7 separate regions of the Homo sapiens genome follow, and regions 1, 2, 3, 5, 6 and 7 are each linked to region 4. The links are contacts of gene promoters, found by promoter capture Hi-C in blood cells and fetal thymus (Javierre and others, 2016). All regions are on one chromosome and are shown on one strand. Each heading gives the region's core, a stretch centred on a gene start or on the middle of the fragment in contact. The rest is flanking DNA. Distances are from core to core; before and after follow the strand shown.

Region 1 (2,700 bases), core at 7-2,506, 480 kb before region 4:
AGAAGAGTGCCTGGCACATGGTATATACTGTTAACTTTTTGTTTTTATTGTTGTCATTATTGTGATCATTATCACCTATAGTTGAGTGTCATATTCTGGAGTCTAAAGGGTAAGGGAAAAGGTTCTGAGTTGGAGAAGAAAGGCATCATGGGACATAGTATTTGAGTTTAGGTCTAATGAAATATAGGTCTAATAGGTAGAAATGGTGAGGAAAGTATTCCAGAAAAACAACAACAACCTCAAATACCAGAGATATCAGGTATGTTTAGGGAAGGGTGAGGAGTCCAGGCTAGCGGGTAGGGTTCATTTGAGGAAAAATGACAAATTTACCTGAAAAGGCAGGCTGGGACGATATCTTGGTGAAGGGTTGGCAGTCTGGACTGGGCTTTTTGAGCAGGGTTGAGACTTTCCGAGCCCTGCTCTGGAACTACTGGAGTAGGCAGGAGGTGGAGGCAGAGAGAAATGGTGTTAGTCCTAGAGTACGGTGATAAGGGTTTGGATAAGGGTTTGAAATAACGTGATGATGATTGTCATGGAAGAAAGGTCCAGGTAGTTCACTGCGGAACTAATGAAATTTAAGACTCAGGGCCTTTTCTTGCTTAGTTCCGTCTCTCAAGCTGTTGAAGGGAAAATTTTTTGTAAAATATGAAAAGATGTTTGTATCCTCCGTCTTTGCTCCCCAAATGATGTGTTTCAGGCTCCCAAACCTGGATCTACCCCATAATTGAAAGAGACTGTGGATGGCCAGGAGTGGTAGCTCACGCCTGTAATCCCAGCACTTTGGGAGGCTGAGGCGGGTGGATCACTTGAAGCCAGGAGTTTGAGACCAGCCTGGCCAACATGGTGAAGGCCTGTCTCTACGAAAAATACAAAAAAGTAGCTGAATGTGGTGGTGTGTACCTGTAGTCCTAGCTACTTGGGAGGCTGAGGTGGGAGGATGGCTTGAGCCTTGGGGGTGGAGGTTGTAGTGAGCTGAGATTGTGCCACTGCACTCCAGCCTGTGTGACAGAGCCAGAACCTGTCTAAAATAAAATAAATAAAAAGAGAGAGACTGACTGTGACTGTGAAGAGATAATCAGTCTGGGTATTGACTTGATGTGGCTATCACGTGATGGAGAGGCCAAGGTCAAAGATGACTTTTGAGATTCTGGGTCTGGCTGACTGGGAGGAACCCCTCATGAGAAAGGGGGATGTTGGGAGCAGCCAGTTAGGGTGCGGTAGTTTCAAGCCAAGTGAGTGCTCTGCACTGGTTAGCTTCACCAGTAAAAGAAACATTTTCTTCTTATATCTGCCCACCCCCATCCTCAATTGCAGTTTTGCAAGCATGATAATTGTAAGTTACACAGTGCTAAGGAAAGGACTCAGCATTTCTGCTGATTAATGGGCTTCAGCCCAAAGCACACATCATAGTGATGTCTTTGTAATGTCCACAGTTAGTATTCTGTGTATTCTAAACCTAGTTGTCTGAAACTTGTAAATGGAGTCTCTCCTTTTTTGGCATAAGTCTTCCACATTTGGTAAATCATAGTGCTTTAAGACTATTTTAAAGTTGTAACATCAGTTTTCTGGAAATTGTATTTTGAAGGAATTTAATTGACTAAGACATGGTTGAAATGTTAATTTCAAAGCTATCGTGCCAATGTTCCAGTGGCAGCACCTACCTGGGAAAGGCTATTGTCAGCATTTGTTTCCTCTTTTTCACACAAGTAAAATATTAAACAAATAAAATTGAAGAATACTCTTTCAGATGGCCAAATTGAATCCTCAAGAGTATTTTCACTTTCCAAGTCACAAAATATAAATATAATTAATGTAGGGGCACAGATTTCACTTTTAAATATATATATATATACATATATATATACATATATACACACACACACACACACACACACACACACACATATATATATATATATATAGTGTGTATGTGTGTGTGTGTTATGCTTTGCTGAAAAGGTTTTTTTTTTTTTTTTTTTTTTTTTGGAGGAAAAATAGCACCTAAAAACAAAGCTAAAAACATAGTAAAGTTTGAGGCAAATGTCCCCAGAGAAAGATCATTAGCAAATTCATGACCCAGAGTCTGGTTGAGACTTCTCTATGAAGCCATTTATTGTTTTAAGAATCTCCCCTTGTGTATCAGAGAGGTTGAATTATCTGAGTAGAGAAATACAGTTGTAAATTCCAAAATGCTTCAGAAATTCACATATTATTTTGGAGCAGGTATTAAGGATTTAATGACTGCAGGATTTAGTTTAAAAAAATGATTTAGAAGTATTTGCAGATGAATTCTAAGAGGATTCTATATAACTTCTCATGTTGGTCTGGTGTTCCTCTATAAAATTAGTACAGACTTGATATTTGTTACATTGTTTCTCACGGTGTAGTAAACACAAATATTTAAAATTATAAGAGTTATGCATTTTAATATTCATTTATGTATAGACTCAGTGGCGGGTTTTCCCATTTATAGCAATGATATAAAACATTTTACATCAAATTGATTTAAGTCAAAAGTAAATGTGTGTTTAAAAAGAATGAATGGTAGTACATGGTGGTACCTACGGCAGAAGTTGGGAAAGTGCATGATTAACTAATGGGCAACATTGGCTTACTGGTAAACAATATAAATTGTGCTGGTTTGTAGTAGGGTAAATTTTATTACGCTGTTTAATAAAACCTCATAGCTGTTGATAATAT
Region 2 (2,700 bases), core at 135-2,634, 420 kb before region 4:
CAATCTGCCTTTTTCTTTTCTATTTTTCAGAGTCTTGTTTTTTTTTTTAAATATATATAGGATTTTAAATTTTACTTATGGGAAGAATAGGGAAAAGTACATCTACTTTATTTTCCAGAAATGGTGTTATTGCCTTATATTTTAAGGTAATTAGTCTGCCTATAATTTTCGGCATGAAATCTGCTGTGGCAGTCTGAATAATGTCTCCCCAAATACAGGCATATTTTAATCCCTGTGAACCAGCTGTGAATGTTACTGTATATGGAAAAAGGGACTTTGCAGAAGTGATTAAGTTAAGGAAGTTGATGTGGGGAGATTATCCCGGATTGTTTGGGTGGGCCCAATTAATCACAGTGTCCTTAGAAGAGGGACCCAGGGGGAGCCATTTAGAGGAGAAGCCGATGTGATGACTGAAACAGATTGGACTGATGCATTTTAAAGATGGAGTAAGGAGCCATAAGCCAAGGAATATGGGCAGCCACTGTAAATTGAAAAAGGCAAGGAAACAAATTATCTCCTCAAAGCCTCCATATGGAACCAGCTCTGCCTACTGTCACTGCTTTAGCTCAGTGAAACTGATTTCAGACTTCCAACTCCAGATCTGTAAGAAAGTAAACTGGTGTTCTTTTAAACCACCACATTTACGGTAATGCTTTACAATATCCATAGGAAATTAATACATCTGCTTTGTATAGATAGCAAATATGTACAGCAGGAGATGCAGATCCTAGTGATGAACATGCATATTCTGAACTTCTCTTATTCATCATACTTTCTAATTTGGAGTATTTAATTCCAAATACTCCAAATTAGAAAGTATGATGAATAAGAGCATATAGAGGAGTCGTGTGACTTAAGTGTTATTTAAGGAAGCTTGAGTTGCAACAATGTGTAAGATGAATTGGGTGGATGGAGATTGGAATCAGAGAGGCTAAAAAGGAGGCTATTATCATCCATCTCAGAGAGACAAGGACTTATCAAAAGAGGATAGAAGTTGGACTGAAGATTTAGAGATGGGTACCAGGGACATTTCAAGAAAAAAGAAAAAAACAAGGCTTTGAAGACTAACTAATGATCAGAGAGATGAAGAGTATGAAGTCAATGATGACGCAAAAGCATGAATAAGTAACGTGTTCATTAAGCAAGAAATAAGAGGGTAAAAACGTTTTCTGTTAGGTTTTCACCTGTCAAAAATGACTGAACAAGTTAAAGTGATTGTATTCTTTTAAAGGTGAAAAGTCAATCAGTGCTTTTTAGAGAATGTTAATTCCAAATCTCTGACTTTAGAAAGGCTGGTTTGTCATATCCTCCTAGTCCTTGAGGACCAAAATATGTCCAGGTGCTTGATTGCCATGTCTTAAACAAGCAGCCCTCTTATTCACTGGCAGTAAGAGAGATGTTTATTAGCATCCTTTTGAGTTGTTGATGAATTTACTTATTGGCTGACCTCTCCTTTGTTACAGTCTGAAATTTTATATTTAAACTTTTAAAGGATATAAAGCTCTCTATTTGCAAAACAACCATCAGGTGTTTTTCTTCTATTTAAAGCTGAAGTTCTTAAACCAAAAATACCATTCTGAATCCCAAATGTGTCTTCTATCAAACATCCTCAAGGTTCTTAAAATGATGTAAAAATACATCTTTTTGTTTTTGAGCCAACTCTGGACTCAATGTCCTCCGAGACAACCTTTAGAAGTATAAAGGTGGAGTCAGGCTGCTTTTACAACTTGGTTGATTCTATTTATTGAACATTTGCTGTGTGAATGTTCCCCTGACCTTGGGTATCATTATCTATCTGTGATAGATAACCTATATCACAGATAGATAGATCTATCTGTGACAGATAACCTATATCACAGATAGATCTATCTGTGACCTCGGGGATCATCATCTGTTAAAGCTTTCATTCATTATAAAGGGATCATTGAGGGACTAGTGTGGGGCTCCCACGGGGATTTTCAGCTCACGGAGATCCTTTATTTATGGGGCTCAATATGGCATTGTTTTTGTTTTACATTTCCTTCTGAGACAGAGAGAACTCACATAAAGCCTAAATCTGGCTCTTGCAGGAAGTTTTGGCTCTGTAAAGCAGAGCTTCCATTTTGAATGAGGTTATCTTTATGAAGCACAGTATTATGGTTGAACTCTTTTTCATTCTTAAATCCATAAACCAAAAATTCCCCTGTTCTACTTTATTACAATAGATGTTTTCATCAGCTTCTACTGAGTTGGATATTTTCAGAATTCTAACTTTGTTGCAAGCCTTCCATTGTCTTCAGTGCTTCTCAAACATGAAAATGCCTAGGAATTGTTGGGGGATCTTGTTCAGTGCAGTCTCTGATTCAGCAGGTCTGAGGTGAGACCTGAGAGTGTGCATTTCTAACAGGCTCCCAGGTGGTGTGCTGCTGCTGGTCCCTGAACCATATTCAATAACAAGGGTGTTTGGCTCATCCTTACTCTGTAAATATCAACTTAGGCTACATCTTAATTTGGTGCCAATAGTATTTCGTAAGTTTCACAATTGGATTGAGCTAGATCAGAAATTAATAGTTAAACCATTGCTTTTTTATTTCAGGAATTAGCAAAAATAAGATGAAAAACATCTGTTTAGAAAATGGAAAATGCTTGAAAAAGTCTAACACTAATGGTTTGAGTTTTAGTTGAGATTGACTTCTATCATTTCCTTTTAAAAAAAGTTAA
Region 3 (2,700 bases), core at 62-2,561, 450 kb before region 4:
TAACAGTTGATTATAGCATTTGGAAAATATGCCTGAGGGAAAAAATAATTTATTTATCGTCACTATTATTATTTTGCCTTTTCTACCATCTGCTACAGGCCATTTGTTTTATAACACTTAAAAAATTTAGAAAGTTCACACTGGAATATCGCTGCCTGTAATTATGGTAATTAGTAACTCAGTATAGAAAGTTGTGGCATCCTTCCTGTTGTAGAGGAAAGGTATGTAAACTTGTTTCATCAAATGTTGGGGTTAACTCAAAGACAAATGAGATTTTGGAGGATCTGATAGATTGTGCAGCATGTCTTTAAGCACCTGAGACATTTCCTGTAAGTTCATTCTCTTACATAAGGCACCATATTCTGGGCTATTTTTGTGTGGCAACGAGTAGTACCATTCCAAGAACCTATACAGAGTATGGCCACATTTTTGCCTTTTTAGGGAGCACATTTCTCTGATTTTAATGTATTGGCATTGTCATAAGTATAGTTTATATTCCATGTTATGTGAACTACTATACATGGATATAAGCAAACCCTTTGAAAATACAGAGGAAAAAAAAGTGAATCCTTCAGAGAGTTTGTATATTTTTCTCACTTTTTTGTCTGGAAAGGTGCATATGGATGAACTCAGTTTTTTTTTTTTTTTTAGAATGGACTAATTTAAATAATTTGTTCTGCTTATTCTGTAGGGGTTGTTTAAACCAGTGTTATCAGAATTTTGCATTTCTAAGAATCACCTGGGAAGCTATGCTGAAAATGGTGATCCTGGGCCCCAACCACAGCAAATATGATTTGATAGTTCTGGGGTGGGGCCCAGGAGTCTGCTTCTTTCATATGAATTACCCTAAGTGTTTCTGATGCTGATGGCGCATGTTCTGTGTTTTGAAAAAACACTGATAGATGTACTGGAGCTTGGCTTGCTAGTTTCTTTTTCTATTTTTAATGACTTGATCATGTAACTTTTAAATGTACCTGTGGTTTTGTATTCTGTTGTAATCTGTATAGCTTCATGATTTATAAAATAAAAGATTCTGTTCTCTTTAAAATATTAGATCTGAGCTAGCTGGATAGTTTTTAAAAGTTCTAAGTCATTGTTTACAAAACTGAGTATGACTTTTACTTTGTGATAAAAATATGTTTTTTTTTTTAAATTGTAAGAGCAGTCAAGTATAATTCTACTTTGTCAGAAACTATCTCATGAAACAGATTCTCCCAAGGTAGAGTTTTAGGAACAAATAAGGGCCTATTAAGTAGAAATATTAAGAAATATTACATATATATTATGTATTGTATATATAAATATACTATATTATGTATTATATATAAATATACTATATTATATATAGTATATATAAATATATACTATATATTATATATAAATATATATATTCTCTCATCAAATATTATTAAGGACCTATTAAGTAGAAATATTAAGGAAGAAAAAACAGTAAAAGATGCAGGGTTTTTTTGGGGGGCTAAATATCTCCCTATGATAAAAGGAAGACAAAAACTCATAAGAATAATTGATTTTTCTTCTCCTAACAAAGAAGTTAATCACTATGATCTATTCTGTCATAGTTAGGTCTAGTTCCCAACAGGTTCTAACTATAAATTTGTTTTATTTCATTTTGTATACATATAATTTTACATACAAAACTGATGTAAATTAGAAATCAAGGCATCTTTTGTGGGGCTTTTTCATGTTATTCTAAGTGTTTTTTTAGTTCCAGTAAGACAGTCTTAATGCAATATAACCAGTTTTATAAAAAGATTTCTAGATATGCATTAAACATCAAAGGTTTCAAGCTGTCTCTTCAGATTAGTGAGGATCATTTCTGTAAGTAGGAGTTCCAGAAATGATGAGTAGAGTTTATCAATTTAGCATGGAAAAACTAATTCAAATTCTGCTTTTAGGGATTACAACATGGATTTTTTGACTTTGAGACATTTGATGTGGATGAATATGAACATTATGAGGTTTGTACATTTAATTTTTTTTACAAAACATAATTTCATGTTGATTAATTTTTTCCCCCTGTCACACTCATGTATTGCAAATCGAGTGGGTGCTAAATAAAAGCATTCTGGAGTTTTCCATAGTGGTCAGTTTTGTCCTTTCAGCCTTGGTTATTTCCTTTGAATCAGGAGTCACCAAAATTTTATTTTGGAAAAACAACATATCTATATATATTCTCTCATTTATATACAATCACTTTGCACCTTTAGTTTATAAGAAAAATCTAGTAGGGTAGTAAAATTATGTTACTTTTATTTTAGAAATCAGGTTTTATTTAAAATAAAACTGAATTTGTACCTTTTATTTATTTATTTTTGAGGCGGTGTCTAGCTCTTTTGTCCAGGCTGAAATGCAGTGGCACAATCTCGGATCACTGCAACCTCTGCCTCCCCAGGCTCAAGCTATCCTCCCACCTCAGCCTCCCAAGCAGCTGGAATTACAGGTGCATGCCACCATGTCTGGCTAATTTTTTTTTTTTTTTAAAGACAGGATTTCACCATGTTGCCCAGGCTGGTCTTGAACTCCTGAGCTCAAGTGATCCTCTTGCCTCGGCCTCCCAAAGTGCTGGGATTACAGGCATGAGCCACCATGCCAAGCCCCCTTATAATATTTTTGGTTGTATAAATTTTATTTTGAAATATGGCTGAATTTACTTAGTTCTAAAAGTTCACTGAATTTTTT
Region 4 (2,700 bases), core at 81-2,580:
TCCTTCTCCATTAGCTGGATTAACAACCTGGAAAAAGTGCCGCCCGCAAAGTGAGCGCCTGGAGCAAGGGACAGTCCCCGAGTGGCCGCCCCTCCCTTTCGGTGACGCTCCACTTCCTGTCGGCCTAAAAGGCATTCCCAGGAAGCTCGGTTTTGTAGTTTCCAGCCCACCTCCGAAAGCCAATCCTTTCCTCCATTTCTTCTCCAAGGTAACAACTTTTAAACATTCACGTGACGGACCACCTTCCCTCAGCCAAACAACTTCCCTGAAAGGCGCCCGAAGGAGCCTTCCCATCCACCGCGGGTGCCCAGGAAAGGCCTGTGGGGCTCTCCTCCCCGCGCTCCACACGCCCTCGCATCCCACCGAGGGGCCAGCTTCTGCCTGCACGTTGCTGAAACTGGCCTGGAGGTTCTGACAAGAATTAGAGCGGCGGCCGTTGCCCCGGGGATGACCTGGAAGCGAAAGAGACCGGCACGAATTCTAGAGTTTCGGGGTTTCCGCGGGTTGAGATTGTACGGGAAACAATGCATTAACCAAACCTAAAAATCAAACAAACACGTCTGGTAGAACCTACCATTAAAAAGCTTCTTTCCTATACTACGTTTAACAGCCTTTATTTTGAAAGACATTGATTGATGCCAGGCATGGTGGCGCACGCCTGAGGTCTCAGCTACTCCGGAGGCTGAGGAGGATCACTTGCGTCCGGGAGTTCCAGGCTGTAGTGAGCCTCATTGTGCTCCAGCCTAGGTGACAGGGCGAGACCTTGTCTCTTAAAAAAATAAAGAAAGAAAAACATTGATCGCCTCCTGCGTGGCAGTCCAGAAGGGTCAAGCGCTGTTTTCGGGGTGGCGTGGAATGGATTCCTAAGATTTGGGCGCCCATAGAGTTAACGCAGCAAAACGATCACTTGCGTTTCCTGCGGACTGGCGGCAATAGAACACGTGGCTGCCTAGACTCTTAATCACTGATATCTACCACACCAGGATTTAATGCCAGTTGGGAGGAAATGGCGAAAGGGCAGGCGCTGGAGCCCATGCATCCGGGAACACTGGTGGTAGGCGGTCGGGTGGGCGTGAGCGGGCTCTCCATCTCCCAGCCCAGTCTGCAGGTCGCCACCTCAGGATTTTCTTCCTGAGTCCGGGTGGCAGGATTCCATCCCAGGTCAGCCCCTCACACCCCCTGGTAGTTGCCACCTCCTGGCGTCCCTCCAACAGCTCCAGCACCTTTCTCATCCCGCCCCCGCCGCAAGCCACGCCCTCCGCCGCGCAGGCCCCGCCCGCGACCGGCCTCCCTCCTTTCCTGTCCCAGGACGCGTTGCGCGGCCCGGGCCGGAAGTAAGCGAATTCCCGGGTGTGTGTCTGTGTCTGTCTGTGTCTCGCAGCGGCGCGCGGCCCCGGACAAGCGCTGGGGATTCCCGTTTGAGGCGTCACTACTGTCACTGCCATCACCCCACGGAGCCACTTCTAGAGGGGAGTAGACCCGGCCCTTCGCCGGGCAGAGAAGATGTTGCCCCTGTCCATCAAAGACGATGAATACAAACCACCCAAGTTCAATTTGTTCGGCAAGATCTCGGGCTGGTTTAGGTGCGGGGTGCTGTGTTTGCGGGGAGGGGGTGTCCGGCAGAAAGGGAGAAGGCCCAGACCTCAGGATGGCCCGAGGTCCAGTGAGGGAGAGTCAAAAACTCCCCGTCAACCCCTAGCTGTGAAGAAAGGAGCATGTGAACTGGGAGGGTCTTGAAGAGGGTACCCAGCCTCGGGGTCCCGGCACCTCCTTAACTCTCCCGGCTCTTTTCCACGTGTATCATTCCCAGGTCTATACTGTCCGACAAGACTTCCCGGAACCTGTTTTTCTTCCTGTGCCTGAACCTCTCTTTCGCTTTTGTGGAACTACTCTACGGCATCTGGAGCAACTGGTAACCAAAGGGGAAAATGGTTTGGGCGGAAGCTGGGTGTGAGGGAGACGAAGCACTGTTTGCTTAATGCCACGTAGCTCCTCACTAGGAGGTTCAGGTCCTACCTTTGTTACCTACCTCTGCTGCTGAGTTGCTTTCTCATACCCACACCAATCTGGTAGGGCTACAGTTCTTGAGTAAGATCTGGGCCTATCCTGTGCAACCTCTCTTGTCACGCTCCCCTCCAGTTCCATCAGACAAGACTGACAAGCCCCTCCTTATTTTAGCAGATGGGCAGAATCTTTCATTTCTAATTGTAGGCCTTAGGTTTACCCACTTTGTTGGAATTGGGAGAAACTTGTTTGCTGCCTCTCTCGGGGGGGAGTGGCATTTGGATTTCACCCTTAAGATTCTGAGAGAGTATATCTGAGATGTTCTACTTAGTTTGTTATTGGGGCTTGGAATGGGAGGTTTTATAAAGTGATATCGGGAGGAATATGTGTCATTCTCTTCTCTCTTTAATGCCGAAACTGTCTCATGATTTTCCTGTAGTCTTAACTGCGATGTAAAAATCCCATATAGTTTCTAGAAACAACATTTCTTGGGTTTTGGTGGCACCTTTGAGGGTTTTTGTTTTTTTTGAAACATCCTTAGGAGGAGGAAAATCTAGTGTGTAACTCTGTGGCAGTGAAGTTACTATTATTCAGGTATTTGCTGTTGAGTAACTTAAGGTCTTATGAAGTTGTTCTGCTAACAAGACTGTCACACTCCTAGGTGTACTAATTCTGTCTTTAGATCCCATACTCCTT
Region 5 (2,700 bases), core at 152-2,651, 380 kb before region 4:
CTTCTGCCTGCCTTTCCCTTGTCACACCAGTCACTAAGTCCTATCAAGTCTCCCTCTAAAATGCCTCTGTCCTTCCATTCTTACCACTGCTGCCTTAATTGGGGTCTTCATGAACTATCGCATAGCCCTTTCTGTCTTCCTGTCTCTTACCTTTAATCTTTCCTCTATACTGTTGCCAGTGTTAAATTTCTGAGACACAGAGCTAATCAAATCCTTCTCATGTTTGGCTTTGTTCAGTGGCTGCACTCTGCCTACTGGGTCAAGTCTGGCTCCCCTGGCTTGGCATTCAGGGTTCTTCCCTGTCGGGCTGTGTGCCTCCCTGCCAGCCTCCTCTCCAGCAGCTCTACCTGGCACGACCTGCCTTAAGCCTGAACCCTAGCACTTGCAGTCCACTCTGCTTTCCCTTGTTTCTCTGCTTGATTTTGTATTTCTTGACCTGGCTCGATAGTTATCTTTTTGATAAGCATTTGTGACCCATCTAAACAGAATGGCTCTTCCTTTCTCGACTCTCCTAGGAGCGCTGACACTCTCATATTATAGTCAGTTATACATGATTCTCTCTCTCCTCTGCTTTCCTTTAAGCTTCTCAGAAACATCTCTTGTTTCCTGAGGTTCCACAGTACAGTATAAGTGCCTAATAAATACTTATTGAACTAAAAGTCAGATAATGTATCTGGGTTCGTGAATGTTAAAGTGTTTAGGAGCCTGGGTCTCATTGTTAGCATATGAAGCACTAACAGAAAACAAACAAGTTTCCAGCTTTAGCTTTAATATACGGTAATCTGGGAGTTGTGTATTTTTTTTCTAGAAATGTGGCTTTACTAAAATAAGAGAAAATAAATTTTAACTGAGTTTGCATCAATATAATTTTGGTGTTCAGATGAACTGAAAACACTCATGTAATGGTTGGCTGAGTCAAGCTGGGTGTCAACAATCTGTCATCTAACAATTGAGCTCTTTGTGATTGTTGAAAAGCATATATTAAATTTCTCCAGAAAAAAGAATCTATTAAAAATCATGTAGGAAGGTGAAAGACTATTTTATATAGCATTATAATGAGCCCAAATTGGCTTTTTAAGTCTTGAAGTCCCTGAAATGCACAGAGAACACTATGGAAAAATGCACACACACCTTTCGAACCTGATTTTAACACAAACCTTCATCCTTTTATCTTAATATGATGCCAATAAAACCATACCCAGCTACATTTCATCTAGTGTTATTGGAGGAAATATGTATCATATTAACAGAGGCAAATTCTTTCAGTATTGTACATGTTGGGTACAATATACACTACTTGGGTGACAGGTGCACTAAAGTCACAGACTTCACCACTATACAATTCATCCATGTAGCCAAAAACCACTTGTACCTCAAAACCTATTGAAATAAAAAATAAAAAATACTTTCAGTATTGTGAAACCACAGTTATGGAAATAAGTATCAATGCACACATTTTATGTGTTAATTTGTGAGCAATACAAAAACTGGAAACTCTATTACAAAGGCTTAAAGAGACATAGGAGTACAGAGGCAGTTATGGGTGTATTTATTTTTCCCCAGTGTTGTATTTGTTCATTAAAACTTAAAACACTATAGTTATGTATATAAAATACCATGTTGCCAAGCATGTATTTTTTCCTTTAATTTCAATCACATTAAAACAAACCATTTTTATTTTAGGTTCTTTTTGCCTCTGTGGTTAGAACTTAAACCAGGGATAACTAGTACACTATTGTTTATTCCTTAAAGGACTGGGGAAAATGTAGGAAAGAAAATGTCAGTGTGGCAAAAAAGTCCATGAACATTTTGAATCAGGATTTTGACCTTAGTAGGATGCTAACATTCCAGGCCATTGGATCCTTTGGTTCAAGTTATTTGAACATTAAGACATCGTTACATTCATTTGCTGTCAAGGACCTTAATCTTTCATTATTCTTTATAATTTGCTGTTTTTGATAGCTAACATGTTTTATTTATTAACCATCTGTACAATATTTATATCTGTAATTATTAGACATGTTCCTGCCATGATTAGGTAACTGGGCTGTTTAAAAAAGAAACACCTCCAGAATAGCTAAAATTTTAAAGTTACTACCTACATCTGCCAAAACAGATTAGTAGCAGATTTCCAGAACAGAACAAATTGTCTTGATCTCCTTACCTAACACTTTGTTTTATGTCAAATCTTACTGCTTTCAGGGAACAAGACTTCTTGATGGAAGCTTATATTTTGACATAAAAATTTTGGGGGCTGCAAATGTAAGGCAATTTTATCCTTATTTTTCAGGTTGAATATTGCTACATTATTAATTTTATGGTATTCATACAATAAGAATACCACATATTCATAATAAACTTGATCTGGTCCTAACTCACTATAACTCTGTTGAGCTTACTAATTAAATGAGCTTGAATATTATATTTGAGAAATTAAAATCTCTTGGTTATATAAACAAGGGCTAACTTCTAAAATAATATTTGTACTTCAGGTATAAAAATTATTTTCACTTTCTTTATAACCATCTTCACTGTCATTGTTATAATTTATTTTGTATTTCAGATTCATTAATTCATTATTGTAACAACTAAAAACATTGGCCAATCAGAATTAAAACTTTAATCAACTCATAATACTTAAGCATGGATGTTCTTATAATGAAAATTTCTTTTAAATTTAGAATATTCCTGAAAATTCTT
Region 6 (2,700 bases), core at 108-2,607, 440 kb before region 4:
CTTAAGTGTCACTGTCATTCTCACTTCTATTTAAACACACACACACACGCACACACACACACACACACACACACAGAGAGAGAGAGAGAGAGAAAGATAGCTTCAGACTGAGAATCCCGACCATTTGAGGCATCAGCCTGCTCCTTTAATGAGAGAAGCCCAGTGTCCCGTTTAGTAAAGAGCCTGGGCAGGTTGAAGCCTGGCTCCATTCCTTTTTGGCTGCGTGAACTTCAGTGAGTTCCACAGCTTCTCTGAGCATCAGTTTTCCTATATATCACAGTGGGAGAAATATGATCCTCACTGCAGGCACCTAGTGAGGATTAGAGATGTTATGTGAAGTGCCTTGCAGAGTATTGGGCACACATAATAGGCGTTTATTAGATAGCAGGTATTATGGTTACATTTTTATCATTAGCTGGCCTAATCAACAGATTTTATGTCTTTCTACATTTGCCTGCTCAGTTTGCAGTTTTTACTTTTAATAATGACTGAGTGAACTAGTCATTTGACTCTGCTGTTCTTCAGTTTTCGAACTTTAAAATGAGGGCCTGGGAAGAGATGAATAAAAACATCTCTTTTGACTCTGATACCGTGTTCATGTGTTTGGTCAGCTTAACTCCAGGACTTTGTTGTGGTTCAGTGATGCCAGCGCACCATCTTGTGGCCAGATGGAGTAAGGGTCGGATGAAGGCTCCATAAGTTCTGGGTCGGCACATTATACACATTGCTAAAACCAATCTCTCGCAAAAAGCACTCACGTACATCCGTAAAAGCCACAAACAGTTGTTCACAGGTCATAGGACATTTCCATTGTTCGTTATAATTTATTCTAAACAGTTTTAAGGATTTTTATAAAACCTACTCACCAATTCTAACCGCTCATGTTCATATCATGTTCTCTTATTTGGAGTCTTAACAGATAGAATCAAGTTGAATCTTACTTGAAATTAGCCCCAGCATGGGTGTTGGAATCTGACTGCCAGGATTGAAATACTGGCTCTACCTCTTACTAGCTGTATGTGTACGGGCCAGCTTTTCCAGGCACCAGAAATTGAGTAATTGTAGGTTTTAATGAGATAATCCACATAAAGCACTTAGCATAGTGGCTAGCATATAGTAAGTGCTTGATAAACGTTAGGTGCAATTATTGTTGTTATTATTATTTCAGTGCCCTGTTGCCATATTTGGACAATTTCTGTCCAGTGTTTTCTTCTCAAAAGATGTATACATCGTTTCTCTTAATAGTCTATTTAGGCATGTTAGCTATGCTGCCATTTACTCATGATGGAAATTCATATATGAAAAGAGAGATTCTTGCAGCCTTTGTTGCAGGGAGGAAGGGGATAGGCACTGAACCAATTGCTAACACAACGTGTGACAGGTGCTGTCATGGAGGTCCCAGGCATGCTAGCAACCCAGAGGCAGAAGCTCTCACCAGCCCGCCACACCAGGGCAGGCTGCCCAGGTGTTTATGAGCCCTTCTCCTCCCCATTCCTCACATGATAGAAAAACCGTTACTTCTTAATGCCAACTACAGTTCTTTTTTTGCTTTAGGCTATAAATCTGTTGCAGGGAAATAATTTGAGCAAGTAAACCAACTAGGAAAACAGACTTGATTTTTGCAGTTAGAAAAGCATGTTTTCTCCATGTTTGTGTAGGTTATTGTTTCTACACAGAAGATTTTAAATAAGCTCTGTTTTACCTGTTTGCTCAAAAGCAACATAGCCTGTGAAAATCACATATCTGAGCTGTGGATTAATTGGTCCTGCCTTCCAATTCTGTCTTCATCCTTTGTGTGACCTGGCCAAGTGTACCAGTTATGGCTGTCCAACTCTGGTAAAAGGCAGTTTTTGGAATATGTTGGGTAGCTCATAGACTTTAAGAAAAGGCTGGAGAACTAGGCTTAGAAGATGAACAGGACCCAAGTGGGAAAATGGGAACCACACTAGGCATTTCAAACATAAAGCATTTAATACAAGGAGTTTATTTCAAAGAAGACTAAAAAGTAAAAAGGCAACACTGAAGAAACCAGAATATGTTGGAGAAAACAGCTAGTACCTTTAAGGCTGGGGGGACAAAAGGGACAAAAGTGGAGTTAGCAGAACCTGCTCCTGTTTTCTGCTGCTGAAGTGATGCTGCCAGGAGGACAGGAAGAATTCCCTTCCTCCTCCTCAGGTTGAGGTTTAGTGCCTCCCATTTTTACAACCAATAGGAAGCCAGATAGAAAGGTAGTCTGGGAAATGTAGGGCGTAGTATATGGACTCCAGCCCCAGTGTCACAGAGCATAAGAGTCGGCTTGGAGCTGAGAGCTGACTAGCATAACAGGGATCCAAGGCAGCAAGAAATACAGCCAAGCACACAGCGTGGAAACAGTCTGGTTCACTTTGCTGGCTGCCGCCACCCCTGGAACCTCCCATCATGAATGGGTTCCAACTGAGATAATTGCACTCAGCTGGTATGTTAGGGTTCAGTGAATTCTGAATGGGTTACAGATGTGGCCATCAGTGTGCTGGGAACTTAGTCCCCTGAACTTTTGGAGCTGCCATTGCAAGGCCTGCAAAGGCCAAAGCCCCCAGTGGTTGCCTTGGCTGATTAGCTAAGGCTAGGTCTGTAACCCAGCTGACTGTGTAGCTCCCAGGAATACTCACATGATGGTGGAGCCACTCAAAAATAAAAGGGGATTTAAAGGTGGAGCATCTT
Region 7 (2,700 bases), core at 168-2,667, 500 kb after region 4:
ATTACAAAGAAATAGGAAATAGTGATGGTAGAGAAGAGAAGCTAAAGAAAGAGAAAATGTTTTAGGAAATAGTAGTGGTTAAAGATTAAAAAACTGAAAAAAATCCACTTGGAAAATGGTTAAGCCAAGGGAAAAATATGAAATTCACAATACATTTTAAAAATGTGACACAAAATGAAATTTTTTATGGTTTGTAAGATTTAACGTGCCTTTTCCCTTGTAATGGAAGCTATGTTTTTGCACAGAGGAGAAGTATGGTATTTTATGAGAAGACATGCTATGAATGACGAAAGGCTCTATTTCAGCAAGTCACAGGCAGAAAAGTCCAAAACAATTGAATAGAACTGCAGCATTGTTGAAAGTAGGTACTTTTTTTTATTATTCAACATACACTTTAAAATCTAAATATTATTGCTATGTATAAAAATGTGGTCTGTACATTTCTATGCTAAATAGCATGACTTCTTAATAATGTCTTTTGATTGTTTGGTTGTAAGAGCATAGGTAGTCCTTGCTTTCATTTTTACTATCCAAAAAATTAAACCATCTATAAGGCCCTCTACGACCAAAGCTCTCCTTTTTCCTGTGTCTATCACAAGCACAAGGTGGGCTCTTGGGGAAGGACTTACCTTGCTTGTCTACTGCAGCAGCTCTGTTTTGCCCAGATGGCTGCAGATACACAGGCTGCACAGGAAATAACAGGCTATGAATCAATGGGAAAACAGATTTAGAAATCTGGTTATTTGAATTTTTAGTTGGTTGGAAATTTGGCCATAGCCTCAGGTCAGAAATGGAGAGATATAAACTGAGTCTGCTCTACCATAGGTATTTGCAAAAGCTTCCTTTCTTCCTTCATTTCTAAATAGAAACATCCTTACTGTTATTTCCTCACAAGTATAGACATAATATATGCTTTTTTTGGAAAAAAATAATTATGTATAGAATAGAAAGTAAAATTCTCTCCCTATCCCCAATGTCATCCCCTTCAGTCATAACCCACTGTTAATATTTTGTTATTAATCATTCCAAATATTTTCTATAAATGTTAACACAATTTTATTTTTTTGAAACAAAAACATATGGCAAGGTTATCTTTTGCCTTAACACTGTGAATATATTAGACATCTTTCTGGATCATTACCTACAGCACTATAGCTCATCCTTCAAATAGAAGTATTATTATTTATTCAACAAATAAATACTATCGTTGATGAGATTGCTCCTGTTACACATGGTGCTGCAAGGAGTGTCTTTTCACTTACATCTTTCCACACTTACCCTTTTATTTCCTATGATAAATTCCAACAACATGGAATTGCTGGATCAAATATTGAGTATAATTTATGTTGAACATATTGCCAATGGCCCTCCAGCAGTGTACTAAATACACTGCCACCAGATATGTACACTAATGTCAAGTCTCCCACATCTTGCCCACACTGGCTATTACCAATTTTTTTAACTTTTGCGAAATTGATAGACAAAGACCAATATCTCATTTTGCTATAAATTATGTAAATTTTTTTTTTTTAAATCAAGCCTAGTTGTGTTTTCTGCGGTAAAACATTGTATCATTTGGCTTTAGGACTCCTGCTTTGCTCACACTCATCAGTACATTGCTGGGTGTTGTTGAATCTTTAGCTGCAGTCTATTCCCCTACCTAAGCACAGGGGTAATTGATTTCTCTCTCTGATATAGATCCTCAATATATTTACACACACATAATCACAAGCCTTAATCACACATATACCACATTATATACATACAATCACACACACATGCACACCATATCACACACAAAATCACACATGCAATCGTTCACACACACCACATCACATTACAGAGTGTCACTGTAAAGCAATGAAAATGAAATCAGTGTTCTGCCCCCTAGTTCAGACACCCATCAAATTCCTGGGGCACTTCAAAAACTCTGTGATGATTGTAGCCTTTCTCACATGCCAGCCTCATCATTTCAGTTCTCTGGAACCTCCCTCTAGAAGCTTTTTTTGCAAGCTGAGAGCTATTTCCTTCTTGCTGGACATATTTGCACTCTCACAGCACAAATCACAAAGGCTGCAGGTAAGGATGTGGGAACTAAAGTTCTTGGGTACAAACTCAAATTTACAAGACACGGTTTACATCTGTTCTCTCTCTCATTCAAACCAGTGCATATTATTTCCCCTTGAAAAAATTCAAGGATTTTGAAGAATTAAATGGTGGAAAGGCATAAGTAGAATCCAGTTTTGTCTGGCTTTTGCTCAAAACATTTTGATTTACCATTAGCCCAGTGTTTCTTTCCTAATGCACAGTTTTCTCTATTGATTTTTTTCCTTTGTCACCAACATTGCTCAAAACGGAACTGTTAAAATACGCTGACCTGTTTTCTTTGTTCAGAGTTCCTTAGCAATGAGACTTACACAGAACCTATCCATCAAATTCAGTATTTAATTAAAGTACAAAGTTAGATTGGGGAAATATGAATAATAGAGCTTGAAAGGAATTTGTATATGAATGCTAGTTTTCCCTTTAGTTTTCTGTGTGTAAGCCTGGATCTAGCTCTTTAGAGAGGCGTTCATGTAATAAGAGTAAATTCTGAGCCAGACAGACCTGGGTTTACATCCTATGTGTGTTTGACCACAGAATAATTTCTCTTTCTGAGCCTTGACTTTTTTCCTTTTCTTTTTGTGACAGGGTTTTACT

What was found. The method cuts DNA at HindIII sites, captures the fragments that hold promoters and counts their contacts. A CHiCAGO score of 5 or more calls a contact.
Region 1: a contact is called between a fragment that was not itself captured here and the fragment with the promoter of SLC30A7 in region 4, in 1 of 17 cell types (activated CD4 T cells). The highest score is 5.9, in activated CD4 T cells.
Region 2: a contact is called between a fragment that was not itself captured here and the fragment with the promoter of SLC30A7 in region 4, in 1 of 17 cell types (erythroblasts). The highest score is 5.7, in erythroblasts.
Region 3: a fragment that was not itself captured here is called in contact with the fragment with the promoter of SLC30A7 in region 4 in 9 of 17 cell types (naive CD8 T cells, total CD8 T cells, neutrophils and 6 more); the score reaches 8.4 in naive CD8 T cells.
Region 5: a fragment that was not itself captured here is called in contact with the fragment with the promoter of SLC30A7 in region 4 in 2 of 17 cell types (monocytes and megakaryocytes); the score reaches 7.0 in monocytes.
Region 6: a fragment that was not itself captured here is called in contact with the fragment with the promoter of SLC30A7 in region 4 in 10 of 17 cell types (monocytes, erythroblasts, megakaryocytes and 7 more); the score reaches 11.6 in monocytes.
Region 7: a contact is called between a fragment that was not itself captured here and the fragment with the promoter of SLC30A7 in region 4, in 1 of 17 cell types (total B cells). The highest score is 9.0, in total B cells.

The regions. Positions count from the first base shown.
Region 1 is chr1:100,418,161-100,420,860 of GRCh38, forward strand. All of the region lies in intron 4 of CDC14A (cell division cycle 14A), which reads left to right. LOC105379827 (a long non-coding RNA gene) reads right to left here. Exons shown (of 3, transcript XR_007066254.1): 2 at 1-430. Among named protein-coding and RNA genes, the nearest start is that of CDC14A, 67 kb to the left of the region's middle. The HindIII fragment of the contact is 2,942 bases long and covers 1-2,700 here.
Region 2 is chr1:100,476,576-100,479,275 of GRCh38, forward strand. The region is part of intron 10 of CDC14A (cell division cycle 14A); the gene reads left to right. Among named protein-coding and RNA genes, the nearest start is that of GPR88, 60 kb to the right of the region's middle. The HindIII fragment of the contact is 1,027 bases long and covers 872-1,898 here.
Region 3 is chr1:100,441,018-100,443,717 of GRCh38, forward strand. CDC14A (cell division cycle 14A) reads left to right here. Exons shown (of 16, transcript NM_003672.4): 7 at 1,917-1,979. Among named protein-coding and RNA genes, the nearest start is that of CDC14A, 90 kb to the left of the region's middle. The HindIII fragment of the contact is 5,917 bases long and covers 1-2,700 here.
Region 4 is chr1:100,894,760-100,897,459 of GRCh38, forward strand. It overlaps SLC30A7 (solute carrier family 30 member 7), which reads left to right and starts at 1,331. Exons shown (of 11, transcript NM_133496.5): 1 at 1,331-1,583; 2 at 1,811-1,912. The coding sequence starts at 1,504. It overlaps EXTL2 (exostosin like glycosyltransferase 2), which reads right to left and starts at 83. Exons shown (of 5, transcript NM_001033025.3): 1 at 1-83. RefSeq lists enhancers at 1-138, 139-861, 756-825, 1,376-1,625, 1,676-1,835. The HindIII fragment of the contact is 2,158 bases long and covers 583-2,700 here.
Region 5 is chr1:100,511,667-100,514,366 of GRCh38, forward strand. The region is part of intron 15 of CDC14A (cell division cycle 14A); the gene reads left to right. Among named protein-coding and RNA genes, the nearest start is that of GPR88, 25 kb to the right of the region's middle. The HindIII fragment of the contact is 1,643 bases long and covers 581-2,223 here.
Region 6 is chr1:100,459,053-100,461,752 of GRCh38, forward strand. All of the region lies in intron 8 of CDC14A (cell division cycle 14A), which reads left to right. Among named protein-coding and RNA genes, the nearest start is that of GPR88, 78 kb to the right of the region's middle. The HindIII fragment of the contact is 3,674 bases long and covers 1-2,700 here.
Region 7 is chr1:101,397,102-101,399,801 of GRCh38, forward strand. No RefSeq gene overlaps it. Among named protein-coding and RNA genes, the nearest start is that of LINC01307, 75 kb to the left of the region's middle. The HindIII fragment of the contact is 1,162 bases long and covers 837-1,998 here.